Linked DNA regions of Homo sapiens: all the other regions are linked to region 1. The links are contacts of gene promoters, found by promoter capture Hi-C in human tissues and cell types (Jung and others, 2019). All regions are on one chromosome and are shown on one strand. The core of a region is centred on a gene start or on the middle of the fragment in contact, and the rest is flanking DNA. Distances in the headings are between cores, read along the strand shown. Region 1 holds the start of DNM1L (dynamin 1 like). Region 2 overlaps RESF1 (retroelement silencing factor 1). Region 3 has its middle 62 kb from the start of BICD1. Region 4 has its middle 29 kb from the start of BICD1.

What was found. Contacts are between HindIII fragments. The study calls those that stand out against the background at their distance.
Region 2: a fragment that was not itself captured here is called in contact with the fragment with the promoter of DNM1L in region 1 in 1 of the 25 tissues and cell types used here (spleen).
Region 3: a fragment that was not itself captured here is called in contact with the fragment with the promoter of DNM1L in region 1 in 1 of the 25 tissues and cell types used here (thymus).
Region 4: a fragment that was not itself captured here is called in contact with the fragment with the promoter of DNM1L in region 1 in 1 of the 25 tissues and cell types used here (lymphoblastoid cells).

What each region holds. Positions count from the first base shown.
Region 1 is chr12:32,676,818-32,681,062 of GRCh38, reverse strand. DNM1L (dynamin 1 like) reads right to left here and starts at 1,762. Exons shown (of 20, transcript NM_012062.5): 1 at 1,598-1,762. The coding sequence starts at 1,699. RefSeq lists a silencer at 1,205-1,614. The HindIII fragment of the contact is 15,512 bases long and covers 1-3,155 here.
Region 2 is chr12:31,972,211-31,976,455 of GRCh38, reverse strand. All of the region lies in intron 3 of RESF1 (retroelement silencing factor 1), which reads right to left. Among named protein-coding and RNA genes, the nearest start is that of RESF1, 15 kb to the right of the region's middle. The HindIII fragment of the contact is 3,191 bases long and covers 1,015-4,205 here.
Region 3 is chr12:32,042,584-32,046,828 of GRCh38, reverse strand. No RefSeq gene overlaps it. Among named protein-coding and RNA genes, the nearest start is that of BICD1, 62 kb to the left of the region's middle. RefSeq lists a silencer at 2,767-2,967. The HindIII fragment of the contact is 5,154 bases long and covers 1-4,245 here.
Region 4 is chr12:32,075,232-32,079,476 of GRCh38, reverse strand. No RefSeq gene overlaps it. Among named protein-coding and RNA genes, the nearest start is that of BICD1, 29 kb to the left of the region's middle. RefSeq lists a silencer at 2,935-3,135. The HindIII fragment of the contact is 3,631 bases long and covers 648-4,245 here.

The DNA.
Region 1 (4,245 bases), core at 513-3,012:
GACCAAAATAAACTCTATTTTGTGTAAAAAGAAAAAAACAACTTATTGATTTTAAACTATTTATGCTGACACACTATATCCCTAATTCTTTTACTTCCTCATGCTTAAAAAGCACTGAGACTCTCTTTTAAAAGTATGTGGAAAGTTTCTAGTGTGCAGCTAGAAGACACTTCTGAATCACTTACTATCAAAGACTTAATTTATATTATCTCTAACTTTTTACAAAAACAGGTTAGTTTTGATGATAAAAGTCCCAGTGTTTTAAAACATTGTGGTTAGAGTGAGCAATATTTACTCAAAATATTTACAGAGCACTTACTATATGTCCCAGACTGAACAAAATTATGTTCAATAAAAAATAATCCTCGTAATTTGTTTGATGCTTCTGAGTCTCCAAACATTACAAATATTGTTACAAATACTAGAATACGTAGGCAAGATTGAGCAGAATCTTTCCCAATCCTATCGCAGACCAAGGAAATGTGTTTCTAAAACAATTTCTATTGCTTCAACTATTTAAAAGCCAAAAAAACAAACAAACAAACAAACGAGTACAGGGTGTCTATAGTTTCCAGTGTTTGGATAGCCACTAATACTTTGAACAGTAAGTTCCTTCTGATAGCACTTATACCCTATACTATGTACCTCCTGGAAAATGATGGGGAAACCGCTCCTTCTCAATAGAAAAGATACTATTAAGAAATGAAAGCACTTAATATCAATATACTAATTTCTAAAATCCGTTTCTCTGAACTCTAATCGAAGTAGCAGAGAAAAGGAAAATTATACTTCTCCTCTGTCACTCTAGAAATAACAGTTATTTTGCCAACATTTCTGCATTCAAAAAAAAATGAGTTAGCTATGAGAAGACCAGAGAAACTGATGCCCAATTTAGGTCACGATCACAAAACTGTGGAAGACAAAAAGCACAGCCTACGCAGAAAAATCGGATATTCCTTCCCAACACCCGCAGAACTCTAGATACACGTTTTGTTTTTCTTTTTTTAAAATGCTGCTTCGGCGTTCTCGAAACCTGGTGGAATTATACTGCAGGAAAACACTGGCGCTCACGCACCGTAGCGTCTCTCAGCCTCAACAGAGCGATTCCAAAACTAACTCCGCAGTCCCTGGGCAAGGCAAGGAGGGAAATAAAACACCCGTCTCACGAAAGCCAACAGTGATGGGAACAGCCAGCCCACCGAGCCCAGCGAGACCCGAGTGCCCCGCGCGTCCCCCAGGTGCCCTTGGAGGCAGCGGCACGCGGACGAGGCCGCGCCCGGTCCCAGCGGACTCCAGTTCCGCCCGCCGGCCCCATCCTTCCCTCTCCTGTCCCCGGGACCCGCCGGGCTAGCCAGGCCCGCCGCGCCGGCTCCGCCCCTGGCCGGGCCCCGGATTCTCCGCCTTGATGCAACGCTGCCCCGGGAGGGCGGGTGCGGCAGAGCCCGGAGAGCCCTGGGGCCCCCAGCAAGGCCCTCCTCCCACAGGCCCCAAAGGCTGGCGCGGGAGTGGGCGCTGGCGCGGGAGTGGGCACTGCCGCAGCACCGACCAGGCCTGCGGCCGGGGTCTGGCCCGAGCGAACGCCGCCTGCTGCTCTCACCTGCGTTCCCACTACGACGATTTGAGGCAGCTGGATGATGTCGGCGCCCACCGTGTTGAAGACGTCCTGGAGCTTGTTTATGACAGGAATTAGCGCCTCCATGACTCTGAAAACACGGGGCCCCAGTGCCCGCCGGCCACGGCAATGAATGGGGCCGGGGCCCACAGTTCGCCTCCTTCCTCCTCTCCTCCGCCCTCTCCTCGGAAGCCGGCACCCATTGGACCGGGCCCGCCGGCTACCTGCCCCCTCCCGGCAGGCCATGCGCTGCGAGGGAGGTGGAGAGGAGCAAGGCCTGCTGGGAGTTGTAGTTCTGGAGCGGAGGAACGCTACTCCCCACAGCTTCCAGGAGGCTGCGCGGCACCGGTGGGCCCTAGCCTGGGACTGGGATGCTGCGCAGGCTCTAGTCAAAGGCTAGGAGCAGGCCGGGAGCGCAGGAGGAAGGCCGTAAATTTATGCCTGTCCTCAAGGCACGATGGATGTGACAGTGCTGGGTGTGAATATGTGTTAAAGGCGCAATGGTGTGTCTCTTAATTATCCAGTGTCACTTCCTTTTATTTATTTTTTATTTATTTATTTTTTTTTTTTTTTTGAGACGGAGTCTCACTCTGTCGCCCAGGCTGGAGTGCAGTGGCGCGATCTCGGCCCACTGCAAATTCCGCCTCCCGGGTTCACGCCATTCTCCTGCCTCAGCCTTCGGAGTAGCTGGGACTACAGGCACCCACCACTACGCCCGGCTAATTTTTTGTATTTTTAGTAGAGACGGGGTTTCACTGTGTTTTCCAGGATGGTCTCGATCTCCGGACCTAGTGATCCACCCGCCTCGGCCTCCCAAAGTGTTGGGATTACAGGCGTGAGCAGTGTGACTTCCTTATGAAGACACTTTCTCTAGAAGGACGGGTTGGAAAGGCTTAAAGAAAAGCTTATGGCCGCAAACAACCAAACTGGGTGCAAAAAAATCTGCACGCTGATACGAGAATGTGTGGGGTGTTATTTTGCAAAAATACAAAAACCAGCCCAGGTTAGAATACGCGGGTTCTCCAGGGGTTTTGTAAACAAACAAACAAACAAACAAAATGTGTGTTCAGGACCGAGCGCGGTGTAATCCCAGCACTTTAGGAAGCAGAAGCAGGAGGATCGCTTGAGCTGGGAGTTCGAGACCAGCCTGGTCAACATAGTGAGACCTCATCTCTACCAAATAAATAAATAAATAAATAAAAAAGCAGGGGTCGGAGCAGCGGGGGGCGGTGTTCATGAAAAAAATCTTAGAGTATTGGAGTTTTACAGGGGAAGAGCTGGGCATTTATTATCAATATTATGTATAAACCTTTATTTGCTGTAGCCTGATTCCTGGCAAAGTAGACATCTGATAACTGCCTTACTCACTCTTTGCTCATACCGTTCTTTTTTTTTTTTGAGACAGAGTCTGACTCTGTCGCCCAGGCTGGAATGCAGTGGCGCAATCTCGGCTCACTGCAGCCTCCTCCTCCCAGGCTGAAGTGATTCTCCTGCCTCAGCCCCCCAAGTAGCTGTTATTACAGGCACCCGCCACCACCCTGGGAAAATTTTTGTATTTTTAGTAGAGACGGGTGGGGGGCGGGGTTTCACCATGTTAGCCAGGCTGGTCTCGAACTCCTGACCTCAAGTGATCCGCCCATCTTGGCCTCCCACAGTCCTGGGATTACAGGCCTGAGCCACCATGCCCGGCCCATACTGTTATATTTCTAAATGTTGTTTTTCTTTTTAGACAGATAGTATCCCTCCTCTACTCCAAACCTCCAAAGGTAAAAGTAAACCTCAAAGTAAAAAGGTGACATTTGAGTAAAGAATTAAAGCAGGTGAGGAGAGGCCAGGCACCGTGGCTCACGCCTGTAATTCCAGCACTTTGGGAGGCCAAGGCAGGCGGATCACTTGAGGTCAGGAGTTCAAGACCAGCCTGACCAACATGGAGAAACCCCGTCTCTACTAAAAATACAAAAATTAACCGGGCGTGGTGGTGCATTCCTGTAATCCCAGCTACTCAGGAGGCTGAGGCAGGAGACGGGCAGATCACTTGAGGTCAGGAGTTCAAGGCCAGCCTGGGCAACACGGCAAAACCCAGTCTCTACAAAAAATACAAAAAAATTAGCTTGCCTGTCGTGGTGGTGCATACCTGTGGCCCCAACTACTTGGGAGGCTGCAGTAGGAGGATCACCTAAGCTTGGGAGGTGGGGACTGCAGTGAACTGTGATCGTGCCACCGCACTCCAGCCTAAGTGACAGAGTGAGGCCCTGTGTCAAAAAAAAAAAAAGAGAAAAGAGAAAAGAAAACATAATAAGAGCACTTTTTCCAGTCTGAGCAAGAGGATAGAGATTCGAGAAAGACTTCCTAGAAGTTACTAAATTTAATCTCCATGAGGACAAGAACCACCAGCAGTAGTGGAAGTTGTGCACTACGCAACTCCAGTGGGTGCCATTCACCTGCTTAGCTGTACACAATGGCTGCGGGGAACATGCTTGATTTGTTCAGCAGGACAAATGGCAGGTGCTTAATAAATATCTGTGAACAAATGGATGAAGTAAGCCAAGACCTAAAGATCCATTAGTGGTGTTTTGGCATCTTGACAGGTTTTGTGAACATCTCCTCTTTGATTATTTTCAAAAAAAAAATTT
Region 2 (4,245 bases), core at 1,361-3,860, 710 kb after region 1:
ACCCAATCCCTTATGATTTTCTTAATAAAATTTCCTTTTCTCAAGCTTATTCTAAGAATACAGCATATAATACATGTAACATACAAAATATGTGTTTATCAACTGTTTAATGTTACTGTTAAGGCTTCCACTGAACAGCATGCTATTGTTAATCAAGTTTTGGCGGAGTCAAAAGTTAAATGTGGATTTTTTTTACTGCACAAGAGTCAGTTATCCTAATTCCTATGTTATTCAATGGTCAACTATATTTAAATGGCAAAATTTTTGGTAAGTGCTAAATCCATTATGAATATCAGAAATGTAAATGAAAACCATAAGGTGGTAATACTATACACAATGGCTAGAATTTTTTCAACTCTCAATACCACATGTTGGCAAGAAAATGGAACAAATGGAACTCTCCTACAATGGTGATAGGAGTATATCATGATCCTTAAAGTAACCAACACTTTGGAAAGACGTATGGCATCATCTACCAAGGGTTAATAAATGCAAGCCCTGAGACCTAGAAGTTTCATTCCTAGGTATGTACCAAACAGAAATGCATAATTATAACACTGCCAGCAGCATTAGGTGCAGTAAGCAAAAACTGGAAACAAACAAAATAGAAATGTATTCATATTAATGAAACACTATAGTAACAAAAATAAAAGGCTATATGCAACATGAATCTAACAAACACAAGACTGAGTGAAAAAGGCCAGAGATTAAAGAATAATCCATGATTCCATTTATATAAAGATTGAAACACAGACAAAACCAACCATCTAGGGACTGTAGTGGTACTTTTTACAAAGTGTGATGGAATAGCAATTGGTAGTTAAGTAGCATGAAGACTGCTTTTGACCAGGGTGATACTTACACACAAGTGTGTTCCCTACATAATCCACTGCATTATACACTTACCATTTGTACCCTTTCTTAGGTATGTTTTGATTTCATAAAGTTATTTTTTAAAGCTCTCTTATAATAGTAGATGCATACTATTAAGCATTTATCAAAACCCGTAAGACCCATTGGATACAGAGTAAACTCTAATGTTAGTGATGGACTTTAATAATAACATATCAGTATGACTAATCCAAGTTGCTAATAGTGGAACCTTAGAGTTTTGGAGATGGGAGGTTCCTATAAAGCTCTTATATGGGAATGCTCTGTACTATAAGCTCAGTTTTCTTTTTCTTTTTTTTTCAGATGGAGTCTCGCTCTGTCGCCCAGGCTGGAGTGCAGTGGCACGATCTGCAACCTCCACCTCCCGGGTTCAAGCAATTCTCCTGCCTCAGCCTCCCGAGTAGCTGGGACTACAGGCGCGCGCCACCATGCCTGACTCATTTTTTATATTTTTGCTAGAGATGGGGTTTCACCATGTTGGCCAAGATGGTCTCAAACTCCTGACCTCATGATCTGCCTGCCTTGGCCTCCCAAAGTGCTGGGATTACAGGCGTGAACCACCATGCCTGACCTCAATTTTCTTTAAACCTAAAACTCTTCTAGAAAATAAAGTCTATCCGTTAAAAAAAAAAAAAAAAGGCAGCCACCACATGCTGACACTCATTTTACAACTCTCAGGCGTTAGGACTCTGTTCCTCTCACTACTTTGACTAGTCCACAAGGTTGGAAGCAGAATGGGTCACAGTGTTCACTGACAGAAGAAAAGCAGCACTTCTAAGGAGAATTAATGATGCTTCATAACTGCCCGTCCCCCTCACTGTCCCCTGGCTTTTACGTCAACTTGGAGGAGAGAGTCTCATGAACTGAATTGTACCCTCCCCAAAATTCATAAGTGAAAGCCCTGACCCTCAGTGTATTTGGAGATAGGGCCTTTAAGGAGATAATTGGTTAAGTGAGGTCATTAGAGTGGGGCTCTAATCCGACTAGTATCCCCCATAGGAAGAGGGACACCAGCGATGTCGGCCCACAGAGGAAGGACCACGTTAGGACACAGCAAGAAGACAGTCACCTGCAAGCCACTGAGAGAGAAGCTTCAAGAGAACAGAAATCAAACATATTGACCCTGGACTTCTAGCCGCCGGAACTGGGAGAAATAAATTTCTCCACCCAGTCTGTGGCATTACTGTCATAGTAGCCCACGATAAGAAATACATACTTGGTCTCTGCCCATGATTCCAGACACGGGGCACCTAAAACTCTTGTAGATTGGGGTATACAATCTTTTGCACTAATACGTGGTCTTTGAACCCGGTTCCTGACACAGAGCTCCTGAGACCTTTGTAATCTCCTGAGTAACAGGAGTGTCTGGTAACATAGAGGTGACCGTAGGGTGGGGCAGCACCTGGAGAGGGCATGGAAGCGCTCACATATGCATTCCCCCATGCATCTCTTCCACCTGGCTCTTCATCTAATAGGCTTTATAATAAGTAAACTATTTCCCTGAGTTCTGTGAGCTCTAGCAAATTAATCAAATCCACGGAGGGAGTCTTGACAATCCCCTCTTTGTAACAGGTTGGTCAAAAGTACAGGTCTGGCGAAGTCAGGGGCAGTCTTGTGGGACTGAGTCCTCAACCTGTGGGATCTGAAGCTTTCTCCAGGTAGATGATGCCAACATGTAATTGAATTGTAGGACACCCAGTTGTTGTCAGCTGGAAAACAGTTTGCGGATGGGAAGAAATCCAAATACATTCTGGTGACCAGAGATGAAGTGGTCAGTTGTGTGAAGAAGTTTTGGTTTTCCTATCTCAAACACAGCCCTAGCAATTAATACAGAGCATATGGGTAGGAAGGGAAACTATCTTTATGTTAATTTGGTTTTTTTTTTTTCCTCCATCCCTCTCCTTCACTGGCATAGAAGAAAACTGAAAACTCGAAAAGCACTCCGGAACGACCTAAATTGAAGTTTTTGGAAGATTGCCTACTAGCTACACAAATAGACTGTGAAAGGAAAATACAATCGACCCTTGAACAACATAGGGATTACGACTTAGGGTGGCAGTAGAGTGGCAGATGCAGAAGAAACTCCAAGTGTAGCCAGACAAGGTAGTGTGTGGATGCAGTCCCAGATACTCAGGAGGCAGAGATGGGAGGACTGTTTGAGCCCAGATGTTTGAGGCTGTAATGTGCTATGACTGTACACTGCACTCCAGCCTGGGCAACAGAGAGTGACCTCATCTCTTAAAAAAAAAAAAGTCAAATCCATGTGTATGTGGATCCACATGGGTCAAACTCACATTGTTCAAGGGTCAGCTGCAGTCTCTAGGATGGCATAATCTACTTGTGGATATAATGTATTCTTAGAACTTTCAAGAATATATTCTAACACAGATTACCATAGACAAGTTTCCATGGTCCATCACTACCATTTCTCTGAGAGAATAAATTCTCGCCCCAAGATCTCTGCCAGCCTCCATCACTGATAGTTTAATATAAAAAATACTTTTAAAAAGAATTTGTGCTTCCATGAAGTTACAAAAAATACAGTGAAAATATCGTTAAAGAAATTAAAAACAGAAAAAACAAAGAGAAATTAAAATGCTACATTAGAAAATACTCATTTATGCAAAATAAACCCCACTAAGGAATAAGAAAGGAATAAAAAGACGAGACATAAAAACAAAAAGTAAAACATTAGAGGTAAATGTAATTATATAAAAAATAACATTTTTATATAAACAATTCTGAGAATGTAGGAATAAACTTTCTCACACTTCTGACACCAGATGTGTGGGTGTCTCACCCCACATAACAAGCAATCAGTTCTGCAGTGTACACACCAGGTGGGTGTCCTCTAATTCATTTTAATTCCAAGACTATCTATATGAAGATAGTGTCAGATCTCATCAGTTTAGGGCTCAGTCCTGCAAGACTGCCCCCACTTTTTTTTTTTTTTTTTTTTGAGACGGAGTCTCACTCTGTCACCCAGGCTGGAGTGCAGTGGCACCATCTTGGCTCACTGCGAGCTCCGCCTCCCAGGTTCACGCCATTCTCCTGCCTCAGCCTCCTGAGTAGCTGGAACTACCGGTGCCCACCACCACGCCTGGCTAATTTTTTGTATTTTTAGTAGAGACAGGGTTTCACCATGTTAGCCAGGATGGTCTCGATCTCCTGACCTCGTGATCCACCCACCTCGGCCTCCCAAAGTGCTGGGATTACAGGCGTGAGCCACTGCGCCCAGCCGAGACTGCCCCCCACTTCTGATGCCAACACCAAGTCCCAGGTTATTTTACCTGTGCTTCCGACCGACCAGCTGTAAACTGGGATTCCCATGTCCCGCTCCTTTGGTTTGTCGTG
Region 3 (4,245 bases), core at 868-3,367, 630 kb after region 1:
GTCGGGAGTTTGAGACCAGCCTCACCAACATGGAGAAACCCCGTCTGTACTTAAAAAAATACAAAATTAGTTGGGCGTGGTGGCGCACACCTGTAATCCCAGCTACTCAGGAGGCTGAGGCAGGAGAATTGCCTGAACCCAGGGGGCAAAGATTGCAGTGAGCCGAGATCGTGTCATTGCACTCCAGCCTGGCAACAAGAGCAAAAAACTCCAAAACAAAACAAAAACAAAATCAAAAAAATTTAAGTAAAATAAAATAAAGACAGAAAGAGGCCAGGCATGGTGGCTCACGCCTGTAATCTCAGCACTTTGGGAGGCTGAGGTGGGCAGATCACGAGGTCAGGAGATCGAGACCATCCTGGCTAACACAGTGAAACCCCGTCTCTACTAAAAATACAAAAGAAATTAGCCAGGCATGGTGGCGGGCACCTGTGGTCCCAGCTGCTGGGGAGGCTGAGGCAAGAGAATGGTGTGAACCCAGGAGGTGGAGCTTGCAGTGAGCTGAGATTGTGCCACTGCACTCCAGCCTGGGCGACAGAGTGAGACCCTGTCTCAAAAAAATAAAATAAAATAAAATAAAATAAAGAAGACAGAAAGAAAATGTATTTATTTAAAAAGAAAAGAAAGCAGCGATGATAAAGCACCCTGCACCCCCAGTACCCCCACCCCCAACCTGAACCCCATGCAACCCCCATCCTCCACCACCTTTTGTTTTTCAAAATCCCCCATTCTTTTGTGTTCTTGGAGAAGACTTGCTCAGAGAACCATCCTTCTGCATAGGACATAGGTACAACTCACCGTCCACTCTCTTGTGACCCCACGGTTCTCAGGGTTGGCTCCCTTGTTCATCTGCAACAAGGCCAAACACAAATCCTCCAATTTCCCATTCTTTGCTGTAGTTGACTAGCTAAGATTAGAACAATTTGTTTCCCTGAGAATAATATTTCTGGTTCAGCTAAGTGACAGACAGTTCTGCATACAAAACAACCCCAACTGCATATCACCCCACTTCAGCTTGTTTACTCCTCTCTATATAAGTCTAGGGCAAAAGCACCCTGCTGAGATCCTCTGATCTTTGCCTCTCAAGTGTTCTTTAATCAATCTGCCTACTTCTCTGGGTTTTGTCTTTGACACAACCCTCGATTTCTCTTTGAAGAAGTGTCACCTTCACCAAACCCAAGTGTGTCCTCCAGATAGATTACTGCTCACCCTGCATAATGCCTCCCAGGTAAACCTTCTCCCCTAAAAGAGAAATACCTCTTTTTTTTTTTTTTTAAGACAGTCTTGCTCTATTGCCCAGGCTGGAGTGCAGAGTGCAGTGGCTCAATCATGGCTCACTGCAGCCTCATCCTCCCAAGCTCAAATGATCCTCCCACCTCAGTCTCCTGAGTAGCTGAGACTACAGGCAAAGGCCACCACACCCAGCTAGTTTTATTATTATTATTATTATTATTATTATTATTATTATTATTATTGAGACTGAGTCTCACTCTGTCTCCCAGGCTGGAATGCAGTGACCCAATCTCGGCTCATTGCAGCCTCTGCCTCCCGGGCTCAAATGATTCTCCTACCTCAGCTTCCCAAGTAGCTGGGATTACAGGTGCACGCCACCATACACAGTTAATTTTTATATTTTTAGTAGAGACAGGGTTTTGCCATGTTGGCCAGGCTGGTCTCAAACTCCTGACCTCAGGTGATCTGCCTGCATTGGCCTCCCAAAGTGCTGGGATTACAGGCATGAGCCACTGTGCCCGGCCCCAGCTAAATGTTTATTTTTTGTAGAGATAGGATTTTGCTATGTTGCCCAGGCTGGTCTTGAACTCCTGGGCTCAAGCAAACTGTCTGCCTTGGCTTCCTAAAATGCTAGGATTACAGGCATGCCCAGCCTTCTCTTCATTTTTAAAACTCAAACTTCATAGAACATATGTATCTCTCAATATAACATTTCTGGCTAACAATTCTATAGAAAAGTCACAAAATTTTTACATCCTAAACATGATACAATATTTTTCAAAAAATGAAATGCAAGAAAGGCCTTTTATTCCAAATATTATTGCTATTTCTTCAGAGTCTGTTGAGGCAATCCTCAACATTGTATCTGCCCCAAAGGATGTGTTGAAGTCCTAACCCCTGGTACCTGTGAATGTGACCTTACTTGGAAATAGTCTTTGCAGATGTAATTAAGATTTAAGTTAGAATGAGGTTATACTTGAGTACTATATTTGGTCCATTTTGCATTGTATAAAGGAATAGCTAAGGCTGGGTAATTTACAAAGAAAAGAAGTTTAATTGCCTCACAGTTCTGCAGACTGTACAAGAAGTGTCAGAGATGATAAATTCCTCTTCAAAAAGCTTTCGTTCCCTGTTCTTTGTTTCTTAAAACCAACTTCCTTGTACTTCCTTGTCTCCTAGCTACCTGTTCTGTAAACAACCTTCCTGCCTTTGCCATGCCCAGACAAGTCCAGATATGCCTTCCCGCCTAGTAACAGACTCTTTTCCCACCTAGTAACGGACTCTTCACCTAATAGACCCTATTCAATTTTAAACCTTAGCCAATCGAGTTAGCTTAGATTGTGAGGTCCAACCCCAGCCAATGGGGAAAGGACACAGAAGTGCTAGGAACTGCATTAGAGATAAAAACCCCTTTCCTACCCTGCTCGGTGTGCTCTTGCGATAATGACTGGCGCAAGCTGCACCCTTCTGCAGAAGAAAATTTGCCTTGCTGAGAAATCTTGTGTTTGAGTGCTCATTTTCTTTACGACTCTGAGCTTTTATTTCTAACAGAACAAGGTGCCAGTGTCTGTTTCTGGGGAAGCCTCAGGAAGCTTCCAATCATGGTGGAAGGCAAGGAGAGCCAGTGTGTCACATGGCGAGAGATTTTAACAATCAGATTGCACATTAACTAATAGAGCAAGAACTCATTCATTACTGTAAGGAGGGCATCAAGCCATTCATGAGGGATCTGTCCCCATGACCCAAACATCTCCTACTAGGCCCCACTTCCAACACTGGGGGTCACATTTCAATTTGAGATTTGGAGGGGACAAATATTCAAACTATATTAAGTAGTATGGACTCAATCCAATATGACTGCTGTCCTTATGAGAAGCAGAGAAGAGACACGGAGACAGACCCAGGAAGAATGCTATGAGGCAATGGAGACAGTGATTAAAGTGCTGTATCAACAAGCATTTACTGGCAACACCAGAAGCTAAAAGTAAGGCATGGAACAGATTTCTTCCCTGGAGCCTTCAGAAGGAGCATGGCCCTGCCAAGACCTTGATTTTGGACCTCTGACTTCCAGAACTGTAAGATAATACATTTTCTGTTTTTTTAACCCACCCAGTTTGTGGTGCTTTGTTATGGCAGCTCTAGAAAGCTAATATAGAGTCCCTATGAACGTTTTGGAAAATTGTGGCGCGATCAACAAAAGGGGCTGGGCACAGTGGCTCACGCCTATAATCCCAGCATTTTGGGAGGCTGAGGCCAGAGGATCACTTGAACCCAGGTGTTTGAAATAAGCCTGAGCAACATAGTGAGACCCTGTCTATACAAAAAATACAAAAATTAAGGCTGGGTGCAGTGGCTCATGCCTGTAATCCCAGCACTTTGGGAGGCCAAGGTGGGTGGATTACCTGAGATCAGGAGTTCACGACCAGCCTGGCCAACATGGTGAAACCCCATCTTTACTAAAAATACAAAAAATTGGCCAGGAGTGGTGGCTCACGCCTATAATCCCAGAATTTTGGGAGGTTGAGGTAGGTGGATCACCTGAGGTCAGAAGTTCAAGACCAGCCTGACCAACACGGTAAAACCCCATCTGTACTAAAAATACAAAATTAGCCAGGCGTGGTGGTGGGCACCTGTATTCCCTGTTACTCAGGAGGCTGAGGCAGGAGAATTGCTTGAACCCAGGAGGAGGAGGTTGCCACTGCACTCCAGCCTGGGTGACAGAGTGAGACTCTGTCTCAAAAAATAAAAATAAAAATAAAAATAATTAGTTGGGTGTGGTGGCCTGAGCTTGTAGTCCCAGCTACTCTGGAGGCTGAGGTAAGAGAATCGCTTGAGCCCAGGAGGCAGAGGTTGCAGTGAGCTGAGATTGCACCACTGCACTCCAGCCTGGGTGACAGGGCGAGACTCTGTCTCAAAAAAAAAAGAACAAAAATTAGCTGGGTGTGGTGGAGCACGTGTGTAGTCCAGCTACTCAGAAGGCTGAGGTGGGAGGATCACTGGAGCCTGGGAGGT
Region 4 (4,245 bases), core at 1,214-3,713, 600 kb after region 1:
CGAACTCCTGACCTTGTGATCCGCCTGCCTCGGCCTCCCAAAGTGCTGGGATTACAGGTGTGAGCCACCGCACCTGGCCGTGAATATTTTAATGTAAGCTTGTATACTGTGCTACCTAAAAGAAATGTTAAGGACAACAGCTTAACTATGGCAAGGAGTCACCATTTCCATCATTCATTCATCATGGTTCTCATTTCCAAAATTCCACCTCAAAGCCATTCTAGCACTACGAGTTTTTTGGAGATGCTGCTGAATTGCAATCTAAACTCTCTGCCTTACAGTAGTAACTGAATGCGCAGCTCTTCTGTAAAGAAAGAGCCTTCCTCAAGGAGGCCTTGGCGGATCCCGCTATTGGCCCCATCTCCCTTTCCATCCTGCACTCTGGATACCGGAAAACTCGGAACTCTGTTTTCTAAATCCCCTTGCCCAGTGGAACTGTGGGATTGGGGGTCACTGCAAAGATACCCAAATAGGGCATTGCTTAGTAAAGTCGTGGGTCAGGGCCACTCCTAAGACATCAGAACTGTAGAGCCATTAGCATGCAACACTAGCCTGGGAGAGCCACAGACACAAGACTCCAACCCATGACAGCTGCACCCAGCAAAGCCATGGGGGTAGGGCCACCAGGAGCTTTGAGAGTCCAACCCTCACCCATTGTGTCCAGATGGTCTGTCATGGAGTCAAAGAAGATGGCTCTCAGGCCTTAAAATCTAATGTTGTTGGTCCCGTTGGGTTTTGGGCTTTTACTTGGGACTTGTTATCCCTTTCTTCTTTCCTATTTCTCACTTTTGGAAGAAGTGTGTCTATCCCATGCCTGTCTCCATTGTATTTTGGAAACATGTGACTTGTTTAATTTCACAGGTATGAGCTAGAGGGGAATTTGCCTCAGGTTAAATCATGCCTTGAGTCTCAACCATATCCGTGTAACAAGAGACTCTGGACTTTTGAGTAGATGATGAAACAAGTTAGGACATTTGGGGCTACTGGCATGGAATGAATGCATTTTGCATGTGAGAAGGATATTTTGGGAGGATGGGGGGCGGAATGCTATGGTTTGAATGTTTGTGTCCCCTCCAAAATTCATGTTGAAACTTAATCCCCAATGCAACAGTGTTGGGAGGCGGGGCCTAATGAGAGGTGGTTAAATCATGAGGGCTCTGCCCTGGTGAATGGATTAACTTTGCCATAAAACAAGCTTGCAGGAGTGTGTTCTCTCTCTCCTGCACTTCTGCCACATGAGGACTCAGCGTTCCTCTTCTCTGGAGGATGCAGCAACAAGGCATCATCATGGAACCAGAGACTCAACCATTGGTGCCTTTATCTTGAATGTCCTAGGCTCCAGAACTGTGAGAGAATAGATTTCTGTTCCTCATAAGTTACCCAGTCTGTGGTATTCTGTTATAGCAGCACAGAATGGACTAAGACAAATCCCTTTCTGCTTAAATTGGCTAGATTGCATTACTTTGCTTGGAATTAAGAACCTGACAAATACAAGCCTGCTCCCTGAATTGCAAGAGCATTTTGGGGAATTCAATAGACCTGGATATGAAAACTGGCTCTACTAATTGCTGGCTGAGAGGCCTTACGCAAGCTCTCTAACATTACTGTGCTTATGTTTCCTCTGCTATAAAAGGATGGTGGAGGAGGAGGCTAATACCTACCACATTGGGCTGATTGTGAAGATCGAATGAGGTAATGTCTGTAACATATGTGGTGTGGTGCCTGGCACATAGTAGGTCCTCCATATATCATCGTTTCCTATATTTTAAAAATATAATTTTTTTTGGAGTGGAGTACCAAACCTTTTAGAGAAAAGTGCAGCTGAACATCCAGTGGTGGGCAAGAACAAGTAGACAGCTCAAAGCTAGGACACTAGGAAAAATAAAATTCTGAGAGAGGTTGGGGCCAGGAGTATGTGCATGTGAGGACACAGTAAATGTCGTATGAGATAAAGCCTAGAAATAAGACCAGACTGATGTGTTAAAAGAAGAAAATTAACTACAAGTTAGAAAGGCATGCTTTTCTACTCGGGAGGCTGAGGGAGGTGAATCGCTTGAACCCAAGAGGCAGAGGTTGCAGTGAGCCGAGATCGCGCCATTGCACTCCAGCCTGGGATAGAGTGAGTCTCCGTCTCAAAAAAAAAAAAAAGAAAAGAAAAAGAAATGCATGCTTTTGCAAATAAAAGAAAACACAACTTCAGGCTTAAACAAATAATAGGTAATTTTTCCCACAGCATAAATTCAGAGGTGGATTGTTGCTGGCATCAGTTCAACTGCAAAATGATGCCATCAGGGATTCAGATTTCTTCCCACCCTGCTGTGCTTGGCATATTGGCATTTGTCCTCATGTGTGCCATCTCAAGATTTCGAAGAGGCCGCTCCTGCTGCTCCAGGAATGCCCCCCGTTCAAGCTGGTGAAAAAGGGGAGGGGGAAAGCTTTTTTCTCTGGTGCTTTTGTGTGTTTTTCGGGAAAGGAATCCCTCTCAAGTCAGCTCCACTTCCATCTCATTTGCCAGACTGGATCATGTATCCACTCTAAATAAATTATTAGTCAAGGGAATAAGATCACAGGAACACTATGATTTTTTAAAATGCCATGTTAGGCCAGGCACAGTGGCTCATGCCTGTAATCTCAACGCTTTGGGAGGCCAAGGCTAGCAGATTGCTTGAGCTCAGGAGTTCGAGACCAGGCTGGGCAACATGGCAAAACCCCATCTCTACAAAAAATACAAAAATTAGTCAGGTGTGGTGGCGTGTGCCTGTGGTCCCAGCTACTTGGGAGGATGAGGTGGGCAGATGGCTTGAGCCCAGGAGGTTGAAGCTGCAGTGAGCCAAGATTGCGCCACTGCACTCCAGTATGGGCAGCAGAGCGAGATTCCGTCTCAAAAAAAAAATTTTTTTTTAATTAAAAATAAATAAATAAAGTGAAATATTATGTTAGCTTTGTGGTTTAGAAAGGGAAAGTCATGACAGACTCCCACTCCAAAAAGGTGGACAGATAAGAGTAAATTGAAGCAACAGAGTCACGCTATCTTTTCGCCACTCATTACTGGAAGTCCTTGTGAAGTGCCAAGCAGAGGAGCCTTTCTCAAAACCATACGTAGCCCCAGCCTCCAGATCTGCTGGGAATTAAACAGTGAGCTAGCAGGGAGGCGGAAGTAAGCCTAGAACAGACAAGCTGGGACTAAGAAAACATATTGGTAATAGACGCAATGCCCAAAGTGAAGACAGTATCTTAAAATTTAAAAGTCCAAAGCTAAGGAATCCATTCTGATAGACAGGAACCTCAGCATAGGAGTCTATGGGTACTGGTGAAACTTGCTGTCAAAATTATGGTACCATTGTGGATTCAGGGATAGCCAGGACACAGGACAAAGCTGTGGCTTCCGGGCACTGAGGCCAACTCCACTGGGAAGAAAAGAGAAGGCTAAAAGGAGCTATGCAGAAAATCTGGTTCATCACCAAATGGGCTAGGTTAATGGTGAGACTCACATCCTAGTAGGCACCTAAGAAGAATCCCATTCAATCAAACTGGACACATAAATTGCGGAGTGAGGAAGTGAGAAGAGGGAAAGTACCTCGAACTTTTCCCTAAGCTCATTTCAGCAGACCAGCTCCAGATCCTTCCCAGATGTTGGAGGTCCTAATCCAGTCAGATTTATTTTTCCTTGACTGTGCAGGGCTAGACCCAAGCTATGACACTCAGCTGTTGAAAGAGGGAATATTAATTCCTTCAACAACTTGAGCATCCTTTAGGTGCCAAGCACCATTCTAAGTGCTGGAGATACAACAGTAGACAGATGTAATCCCCACCCTCATGGAGTTCATTGGTTCCCCCTGAATAATTGTGGGGAAAAAAAAAAACTACTGACAAAGGCTGCAGCTTACCAAGGCTTCAGCATCCCCTGACCTAAGAAGAAATGTGAATCTCATGCAGGGATTAAAGATGTGTAAAATGCCAACCCTGTCTCCAAGGCCTGATGGCCTAAAGGGAAAGTTTCAATGAGGACACTCCTCCAGGAGACCTCTAAAGAGGCATAACCACCAACACAGAGACCATGACAGCTTCGAGAAACCAGCACTCCTGCCTCTCAGGGAGTGTTCCTGCACTTTCACGTAGGGCAAGGGCTGCATCTAGAGCTGCCCTTACTCTAGAACAGGGAAAGGCAGCTGGAGCATCCTCCACAAATCACCTGCCCCCTCTCCTTTGCTTCTTACCGTTATGTTTCCAGAGTCTGATATTCCT